3 separate regions of the Homo sapiens genome follow, and all the other regions are linked to region 2. Evidence: promoter capture Hi-C in 16 types of primary human blood cells and fetal thymus (Javierre and others, 2016). All regions are on one chromosome and are shown on one strand. The core of a region is centred on a gene start or on the middle of the fragment in contact, and the rest is flanking DNA. Distances in the headings are between cores, read along the strand shown.

Evidence for each region. Contacts are between HindIII fragments. The CHiCAGO score rates a contact against its expected background, and 5 or more counts as called.
Region 1: a fragment that was not itself captured here is called in contact with the fragment with the promoter of PGLYRP1 in region 2 in 1 of 17 cell types (M2 macrophages); the score reaches 5.3 in M2 macrophages.
Region 3: a contact is called between a fragment that was not itself captured here and the fragment with the promoter of PGLYRP1 in region 2, in 1 of 17 cell types (endothelial precursors). The highest score is 5.0, in endothelial precursors.

The regions. Positions count from the first base shown.
Region 1 is chr19:46,212,659-46,215,716 of GRCh38, forward strand. It overlaps LOC93429 (a long non-coding RNA gene), which reads left to right. Exons shown (of 6, transcript NR_027003.1): 4 at 132-352; 5 at 671-825; 6 at 1,139-2,180. It also overlaps a transcript of IGFL2 not described here. Among named protein-coding and RNA genes, the nearest start is that of IGFL2-AS1, 11 kb to the left of the region's middle. The HindIII fragment of the contact is 6,207 bases long and covers 1-3,058 here.
Region 2 is chr19:46,021,709-46,024,765 of GRCh38, forward strand. PGLYRP1 (peptidoglycan recognition protein 1) reads right to left here and starts at 1,345. Exons shown (of 3, transcript NM_005091.3): 1 at 1,027-1,345. The coding sequence starts at 1,313. RefSeq lists an enhancer at 1-838. The HindIII fragment of the contact is 5,413 bases long and covers 1-2,448 here.
Region 3 is chr19:46,246,494-46,249,501 of GRCh38, forward strand. All of the region lies in intron 1 of LOC124904728 (a long non-coding RNA gene), which reads right to left. Among named protein-coding and RNA genes, the nearest start is that of IGFL1, 18 kb to the left of the region's middle. The HindIII fragment of the contact is 3,692 bases long and covers 1-3,008 here.

The DNA.
Region 1 (3,058 bases), core at 131-2,630, 190 kb after region 2:
GACACCAAACACAAGAACGACAATAACCAAAATCAGGAGTTTTATTCTCCTACCTTCTCTCTCTCTCTCTCTCTCTCTCCTCTCACTGTCATGAACGTCACGAAGACACTGACTTTGCATTTTCTACTCAGCACTGCATCACCAGTGTCTGACACAAAGCCTGGGACATGTGGGCTTCCAAGTGGACCTCTCCTGGATAAATGACCATTAATGAAACAGAGAAGGAGTTGAAGAGCCCCCAGAGGAGTGTGAGTCCCAGGGGTCCCGCCAGCTCCACTCCCACCTTCCAAACCTGTGAAAGTCAGGTGCCTGAGTCGCACAGTCTCTCCCACCCGAATGCCATGAGCTGCAGGTGAGTGAGCAGTTACTGCATCCTGGGCCATGGGCTTGGGTTGTGAAGTTAGGACCTGATTAGAGGATGTCAGGGGTTAGCAATGTACCAAGGAAAGTGGAGAAAGTCATAGCTCAATGGGATCCTGTGGAATCACTGTGTGGCTGTGTGAGTGGGGGAGGGCGGTAACTATAGGAGCATGCTGCACCTTCCTGTTTGCCAAAGAGGGGGCATGTAGGACACAGAAGCGGAGGGTGCACCACTTCTCCCTGGGTTCTCAAAGTGTCTGAGATCAAATCTACTATGACACATACCCTGCCTGGCTCCTTTACTGCCCAGCGACCCAGCCTGTCTCTGCAGGAGGGCCAGACATGCCGTGACATCACCAGCTCCTCTAGGAATATGGGATACAAGGAGTGGCTGAGATCGGCTGATCACCAGCTCACTCCGCTGCAGCCGCCCCAGAGCAATGGCTCCCCGAAGCCGTGTTCTGGGTAAGGAGGGGAGGACCCCATTCCCAACCGAACCCATCTCCCATCTCAGCCACCACCAGGGCTCGCTCCCCACCCCAAACTCCCTGTTCCCTCATTCTTGTTCCCATGCCCAGCCAAATCTCCAGGCGTGAATTGCTCACAGCAATTCCCCATCCACAGCGCCCGGGTCAGCCCCATCCACAGCCCTGTTTCAGTTTCTGAACTGCCCAAAGCCATACCGAGCCCTGGTTCCACCCAATCTTCTTCTAAATGTCAGTGCCAGTCGTATCTGTGGCTGTCCACTCACCCCATCTTCCCCTTCCCTCTCCCACAGCTGTCTTGGCCGCTTTCTGTTTGTGACTCTCCCTGCCTCCACTCCCCCCACCACCCCATGAAATGATCTCATTTGGTCATTTAAACGGAAAACTAAAAAGTTTTAAGTGACTCTAGGAGAGCAGGAGAGAGGCAGGTCTCCCAGCTCAGACCCCGCCCCGGGACGGCCCCACGGAAGATGCACATCTGGATGTAGGCGCTCAAGGCACCGCGCGTGCGCCGAGTGGCCTTGCTCAGCTCCGTCCTTCTGAAACCCGGAATCCTCATGTGTCTGGGTCCCGCCCCATCCTGGCCTCCTACACCACTGGTCCAGATCCTCCACCTTCCCCCAACGCGAGGTATTGACATCAAAGCATCACCTCATCTGGCACAAGAATCTGAAACACAGACCGCACCTTACACCAACGTAGTGAATCCCTCCTTGGACCTGAGTTCAACAAGCCCAGAGTCGGGGCTCTGGGTTCCCGCCCAAATGCCACGCATGCACACAGATGGCACCTGGCGTCTCCTCAAAGGGACAGGAATCCCGGGCTTCCCAGAATCACCAGGTCGATTTAAATGGCATCAGATGAACTGGAAAAGAATGAAAGTGCTATTGCCTAAAGTGATGAAATTTTCAGAGGATGTATCGGTCCTGTCTGGTGGACAGACGGCCACCAGAGGGAATGAACCAGTCTTCTCTGAACATCCATGAGGATGAAGAACAGTCACTGAGGTGACGGTACCAAGTCACCGGCCACCTCCCAGGGATCCTCTCATCCGGTCCTCACAGCAGCGCTGCATGGTCGGACCTCATCACCCACATTCCACCAAGAGGAAGCTGAAGCCCAGGGCCTTCATCCACTCATGTCCTCCAGACCCCTGGCACCCATCCTGGGCCCCACCCCATCATCCAGGCCTTGGGCCTTCGACCTGGGGAGAGTCCCTGTCTCCTCCATGAGCCGTCCAGGGCCTGAAGAGGTATCCAATAAACAAGAAAGCAGAACACAAAGAGCTGTGATGGAGTGGATCTTATGTAGTAAGAATAAAATTATTTTGAGAAATTACTGGGTCATGTATTTACCCACAGAAAAACAGAAGCAAACACACGCGTGCGCGCACACACACACACACACACCACACAGGCTGTCACGTGTCCTCAGCACAAAGTGCCTTGAGAAAGGCCATTGCTGGCCCCACACTTATCCTGACTGTGATCTTGCTGTGATCAGCACATCCCATCAGTGTGGCAACAGGTGTGGCCAGAGTGGGAACCAGGCCTTTTCTTCAGATTTGCTCTTTGTTCCTGAATAGCCACCGTCAGAACAGACACCCTCCTAGGAGTCACTTGATTAAAAATTTCCTTTTGGATATTTAGGTTGATGTTTTATCCATCGGTTAAAGTATAAATGTATATTTATTATAAAAGTGTAATTATGGCTCTAATTAATGATTATGGTGAATTTTACTAACTATAGCTATGAAAATATTCCAATAGATAAAAACAGTGCTAAAAATGTACAGTTAATCCAAGAGTGGTAACTTTAAGTCTTGTAATTTTTGATCTAATAAATCTTCATAAAATATACATGATCATGAAGTACATCAGTAGAATTAATCCTAATATTTACAGCAATACTTGGCGTGCTGTCTCTCATAAAAAATAACATTAATAGTAAAAAAAAAAAGAAGAAATCGGCCAGGCACGGTGGCTCACGCCTGTAATACCAGAACTTTGGGAGGCCGAGGCAGGCAGATCACAAGGTCAGGACATCGAGACCATCCTGGCTAACACGGCAAAACCCCGTCTCTACTAAAAATACAAAAAATTAGCCCAGCGTGGTGGCGGGTGCCTGTAGTCCCAGCTACTCGGGAGGCTGAGGCAGGAGAATGGCATGAACCCAGGAGGCAGAGCTTGCAGTGAGCCGAGATCACGCCACTG
Region 2 (3,057 bases), core at 95-2,594:
GGGGGGAAGCCTCCCATGGCTCCCATCTCGGAGTAAAAGCTACAGTCCTCACTGTGGTCCACAAAGCCCTGCCTGGTCCTGCCCTTTCCTCATTTCATTCCGCTCGCCCGGCTGTGTTCAGCCACCCTGTCCTTCCCACAGGACCCGCCCACTCAACCCCGTTGGCTTTGCCCCCAGCACCCCCTGCCACCTGCAGGCCTCTGTCTGCTCCCCCATCCCAGAGCCAAGGCAGCCACTCTCAGGGAGGCTTTCCCTTGCCCCACCCTTCCAAGGAGCCTGTGTGGGTCTGGTCCCAGCCTGAGGTCACCCTCCCTCACCTCTTTCCTTTTATCCATCGCCTCTATCACCGTCTGAATTCACCTGTGGCCTTGGCTTGTTTCTCCCTGCTGGTCTTTCAACCCCAGGAGGCTAGAGTGGCACCGTTCTCCATGCCACATCTGGCACACTGCCTGGCACATAGTAGGTGCCTAATGGTAATAGCCCGTGGCTTTGCGGGCCCCCGTGTGCCAGGCAGTTCCTAGGTGCTTTGCCTGTATTGGCTCATATAAGGAGCAGATGGGCCGCGATTCCATTGACTTTGCCGAGGAGGAAGCTGAAGCCGGGAGGACCCGCCCCAGGCCTCAGCCAGCAATAAGATGAGCTGACCCTGGAACCCAGCTCCGCACTGAGTCAGCCTGGTTTTCCGCCTCCTAACAAAGGCACCAGGCATCAGGAAGGGGCGCCTTCATAAGGCGTCGCGGACACCTTGGTGTGTGTTAGGCAAAGCCTGCCCCTTCTTCCCGGGAGCGGGAGCGGGGCTTGGATTTCAGCCCATCCCCCCTTCTCACGCATCTTTGTGCTGTGAGCACCTGCCCCGGCCCACGTGGTGACCCGAGGAAGAAATGACCTTGTGAGGTTCAGTAAGCTGCTCAGGGTGTCAGCCAGGTGGCCTCAGCACCAGGCCTAGAAATGGTCCCGCTGGCGGGCACTTGCACACCTTTGCCTCTGGGATCCCCAGTCCAGCCCGTGCCCCCCTGCCACACTCACTTGTAGCCCACGTCGCACCAGCCCAGTGTCTTCATGTGGTAGTGCTGCACATTCCGGGCCTGCTGCTGGCACGAGGCGGGGGTGTTGCAGCTGCTGCCCGCCGTGTGCGATACCACCACATAGCGTAAGGGCAGGCTCAGGTGCTGGGCGCACTCTGATGCCAGGGCCTTCCACTCGTTCCGGGGCACTATGGGGCTGCAGCAGGCCGGGTCTTCTGTCTCCTGAGCCGCTCCGAGTCGAAGGAGGCTGGGGAGAGCCCAGGCAAGCAGCATAGAGCGGCGGGACATAGTGGCAGGGCGGCAGGGTCCGGGAGACCGCTAGGAGCGCCCGGTGGAGGGGCCGCCTTTATCTGCTGGGGGATTCCAGGAGTGGCCCGGAAAGTCTTGCTTCACACCCTGCTGGGACTTCCTGCTGGCCCAGCAGACCCCAGACTCAGCTTCCTTCTCTGGCTGGGCCAGGGCGGGATGCACTGTGGTTGGGGTCTGGGTCACGCCCACGGCAATGACAGGCCCCCTCGCTCAGCAGGGAGGGACGCACAGGCCCCTGGGCGCTTCGCCCCGCCGTTTCTGGAAGACCCGGGGCCGGGATCCCGGTCCTGCTTGTCTCTCCTCTCAGTGGAACATTGAACAACTCAACAGGAACTTACATCGCAGAGGCCCGGGGCATTGGCACATCTTCTCCCCGCAAGGACTGAGGTAACAAAGCTACCCATTTTAAAAACACTTCCTTCCCCCAGGTCCAAGCCTGATGCCATTTACGCTTGCAGCAAACTCAAGAGGTGAGTATCTGGAAGTCCATTTCACAGTGGAGTAAACTGAGGTTGAGAGCAGGGAAGTCACGGGCTGAGACACCGGAGGCACTGGAGCCCCGCGTCTAGAGCCAGGCTGCCTGCATGTGAATCCTGGATATGCAGTGTGTGAGAGCCTGCAAGTGGTTTTTAAAAATGTGTATTTAAAATTTTTTTTTTAATTTTCTATTTTATAAATAATATTTTCCTTTTTTTTTTTTTTTTTTTTTGAGATGGAGTTTTGCTCTTGTCACCCAGGCTGGAGTGCAATGGTGCGATCTTGGGCCACTGCAACCTCCGCCTCCTGGCTTCAAGTGATTCTCCTGCCTCAGCCTCCTGAGTAGCTGGGATTACAAGTGCACACCACCACGCCCAGCTAATTTTTATATTTTTGGTAGAGACGGGGTTTTGCCATGTTGGCCTGGCTGGTGTCGAACTCCTGACCTCAGGTGAGCCACCTGCCAGTGTTCCAGAGTGCTGGGATTACTATAGGCATGAGCCACCGTGCCTGACCTGTGTGGTGTGTTTTCATCTTCTGTGTTCTGCCTTCTCATATACATTGTACTCATGCTGTTACTGAATTGTGCACCAGGCATCTGTAGCACTTTTCAGAAATTATCATATACTCAACGACAAGCTTGCCAGATCCATGTTATTATTAACCCCTCTTACAGTTGACGGAACTGAGGCCCGGGGGGATGATCACATACAGGAGGTGATGAAGCCAGGGTTTGGCTACAGGCTTTCTGCCTGCAGAGTTATAAACCGTATTCTCCTCCCTACAAACTTATATAAGGACATTAAAAAAAAAAATCAAAACCATGTGCATCAATTTACCTTTTGTCACCTAATATTTCATGGGCATCTCACCAGGGCAGTACATCTAATTCTAATTTATTCTTTATAATAGTTGCACAATATGCTATAGTATCAGTTCAGCATTGTGGATCTTTTAGTTTTTGAAGGTTTTCCAGTATTTTCTCCACACTACGCAAAATATTTTCAGACATATATCCCTATGCACTGGTGCATTTATAAGTAAATTATAAACACAGAGTTATTAGGTCAATGAGTATACATATTTAATTAATATTACCAGATCATTTTCCCCAAAAAGCCATTAATAATTCATATTTTTCACCAGTAATGTTTTGGAGCCTCCTCACCCCGACCCCAGAAGTGGGTGTTATCACTTTTTTTTTTTTTTTTTTGAGTCAGAGTCTCGCTCTGTCACTCAGGCTGGA
Region 3 (3,008 bases), core at 380-2,879, 230 kb after region 2:
CAGCATAATCGCTTATTTCTTACCCTTTCTCCCCTTAACTGGTTTTAAAAGTCATGGCATGAAACAATATGTATGTAATTGTATTGCTGGGAAAAATAAAGAATCTGATTTTTAAATGGGCAAGAGGTCTGAATAGCCATGTATTAAAGGAAGACATACAAATAGTCAACGGATATATGAAAAAATGTTCAACAACACTTATCATCAGGGAAATGCAAATCAAAACCACACTGAGATGTCCCACTTCGGTTAAAATGGCTTTTATCAAAAAGACAAAGAATAACAGATGCTGGCAAGGATGCAGAGAAAGGGGAATGCTCATATACTGGAAATGCCCCTCCAGACCCAGACAGTAAAATTTACAAAACATTTAGAGAAGAATTAATACCAATCATTCACAAACTTTTCAAAAAAGTCAAACAGAACTTTCCAATTTACTCTGAGGTCTGTATTACCCTAACACCAAAATCAAAGATATCACAAGAAATTAAAAAGAAAAAACTACAGACCAACATCTCTTATGAATATAAATTCAAAAATCCTCAACAAAATATAGCAAACCAAATCCAGCAGCATATATAAAGAATGATATATCAGCCGGGCACAGTGGCTCACACCTGTAATCCCAGCACTTTGGGAGGCCAAGGTGGGTGGATCACGGGGTCGGGAGATCGAGACCATCCTGGCTAACATGGTGAAACCTCGTCTCTACTAAAAATACAAAAAATTAGCCCGGCATGGTGGCACGCTCCTGTAGTCCCAGCTACTTGGGAGGCTGAGGCAGGAGAATTGCTTGAACCCGGGAGGTGGAGATTGCAGTGAGCCAAGATCGTACCACTGCACTCCAGTCTGGGTGACAGAGCGAGACTCCGAAAAAAAAAAAAAAAAAAAAACAATGATACATCATGACCAAGTGGGATTTATCCCGGGGATGCAGTTGGTTCAACATAAGAAAATCAATCAATATAATATACCATATTACTAGACTATAGAGGAAGTCACGTAATTCTCTCAAATGATATTGAAAGAGCATTTGACAAAATCTACACTCTTTCATGATAAAGTACAAAGAACAAACTAGGAACAGAAGAGAGCTTCCTCAACCTGTTAAAGAGCATCTACAATAAACTCATAGCTAACATCATACTTAATTGTGAAAGATTGAATGCTCTCCCCCTAACATCAGGAACAGGATAAGTATATTCACTCTTACCACTCTATTCAACATAGCTCTGGAGGTTCAAGCCAGGAAAGTTAGGCAAGAAGAGAAAATGCATTCAGATTGAGCAAGATGAAGTAAAATGGTTTCTATTTGCAAATGACATGATCTTGTATGTTAAAAATCCTTAGGGCCAGGTACTGTAGCTCATGCCTGTAATCCCAGCATTTTGGGAGGCCAAGTGGGGAGAATCACTTGAGGCCAGGAGTTTCAAGCCACCCTGGTCAACACAATGAAACCCTGTCTCTACAAAAACAAAAAATAAACAAAATTAAAAAATTATAAGTACCTGAGGTGATAGATAGCGTAATTAACTGGATTTAATCATTCAACAAGTTAAGCCTACATTAAATCATCACATTTTACCCAATGTGAATAAACAATTATTCTTTGTCAATTTCCTAAAAAAATTCCTAGCAGAAAACGTGGAAGTAAATCTTGATGACCTCAAGTTAGGTAATATTTTCTTAGATATTACACCAAAAACACAAGAGACAAAAGGAAGAATAGACCTCATCAAAAATTAAAAACCTATGCACTGCAAGCATCAAGGAAATGAAGACAATCCACATAATGAGAGAAGTGTTTGCAAATCATGTATTTGATAAGGGATGAGTATCCAGAATATATTTTAAAACTCTTACAACTATATAATAATAAAATAAGCAACCCAATTAAAACATGGAAAAAATCTGAATAAACTTTTTTCAAAAAGGAATACAAATGGCCAATAAGCACATGGAAAAGATATTCAGCGTCATTATTCATTAAGGAAATGCAAATTAAAACTACACAGGATATCATACGCACCCACCCAGATGACTGTAATAAACAGGAAAATAGAAAATAACAAAGGTTGAAGAATCTGGAGAGAAATGTGAGCCCTCATACACTGCTGATGGGAATGTAATTGATGCGGCTCTGTGGAAAACAGTTTGCCAATTCCTCAAAAACTTAAACAGAATTACCATGTGGCGCAGCAATTCCACTCCTACATGTACACCCCAAAATAATTGAAAACAGGTTCTCAAGCAAATACATGTATATGTATGTTCATAACAGCACTATTCACAACAGCCCAAGTGTCCATCAACAGATGAATGGATAAATGAATGCTGATACATGGATACAATTGAATTTATTCAGTTATAAAAAGGAATGAAATACTAATAAATTCTACAATGGGGATACAATTGTAGAAATTGTAACAATGAAAACAATAAACAAAGTAAAAAAAAAGAAGGTGACACAAAAGTTCACATATGGTGTGATTCCATTTATATGAAATGTCCCAGATAGGTAAATCCATACAGATGGAAAGCCGACTGGTAGTTGCCAAGGGTGAGGGTAGAGGGGAAGGGGAGGAACAGCTAAGTAGGCATACAGTGGTCGGGGGCTGTGGAGCCAGGTGACTCGGAGCTAAAAAGCAATTCTGGAAGATGACTGAGCTACTCTTCTTTCAACTTGAGAGAGGAAGAGAAGGAAGGAGAGGAGGGAAAAGACAGGGAGGGGAAGAGAGGAGAGTGGGGCAGTGGAGGGGGAGAGAGAGAGAGAGAGAGATTGATGGTTGCGCAAAAAGAAGCTAGTGAACACAGCAGGCATTGCTCACCTTGATGGAATACACACAACAAAACTCTGTCCACCGCCTGGGCTGCCCTTACTTGAGCACACTCCTGGGGTAGTCAGGCCTCACTCCTGGGACATGGAGCCTCACTACTGCCTGGTGCTGAGAGCCCAGGGGCTCCAGTCAGCAGTGCTGGAAGCAGGGCCAGAAGTGCAGTTAGGACCA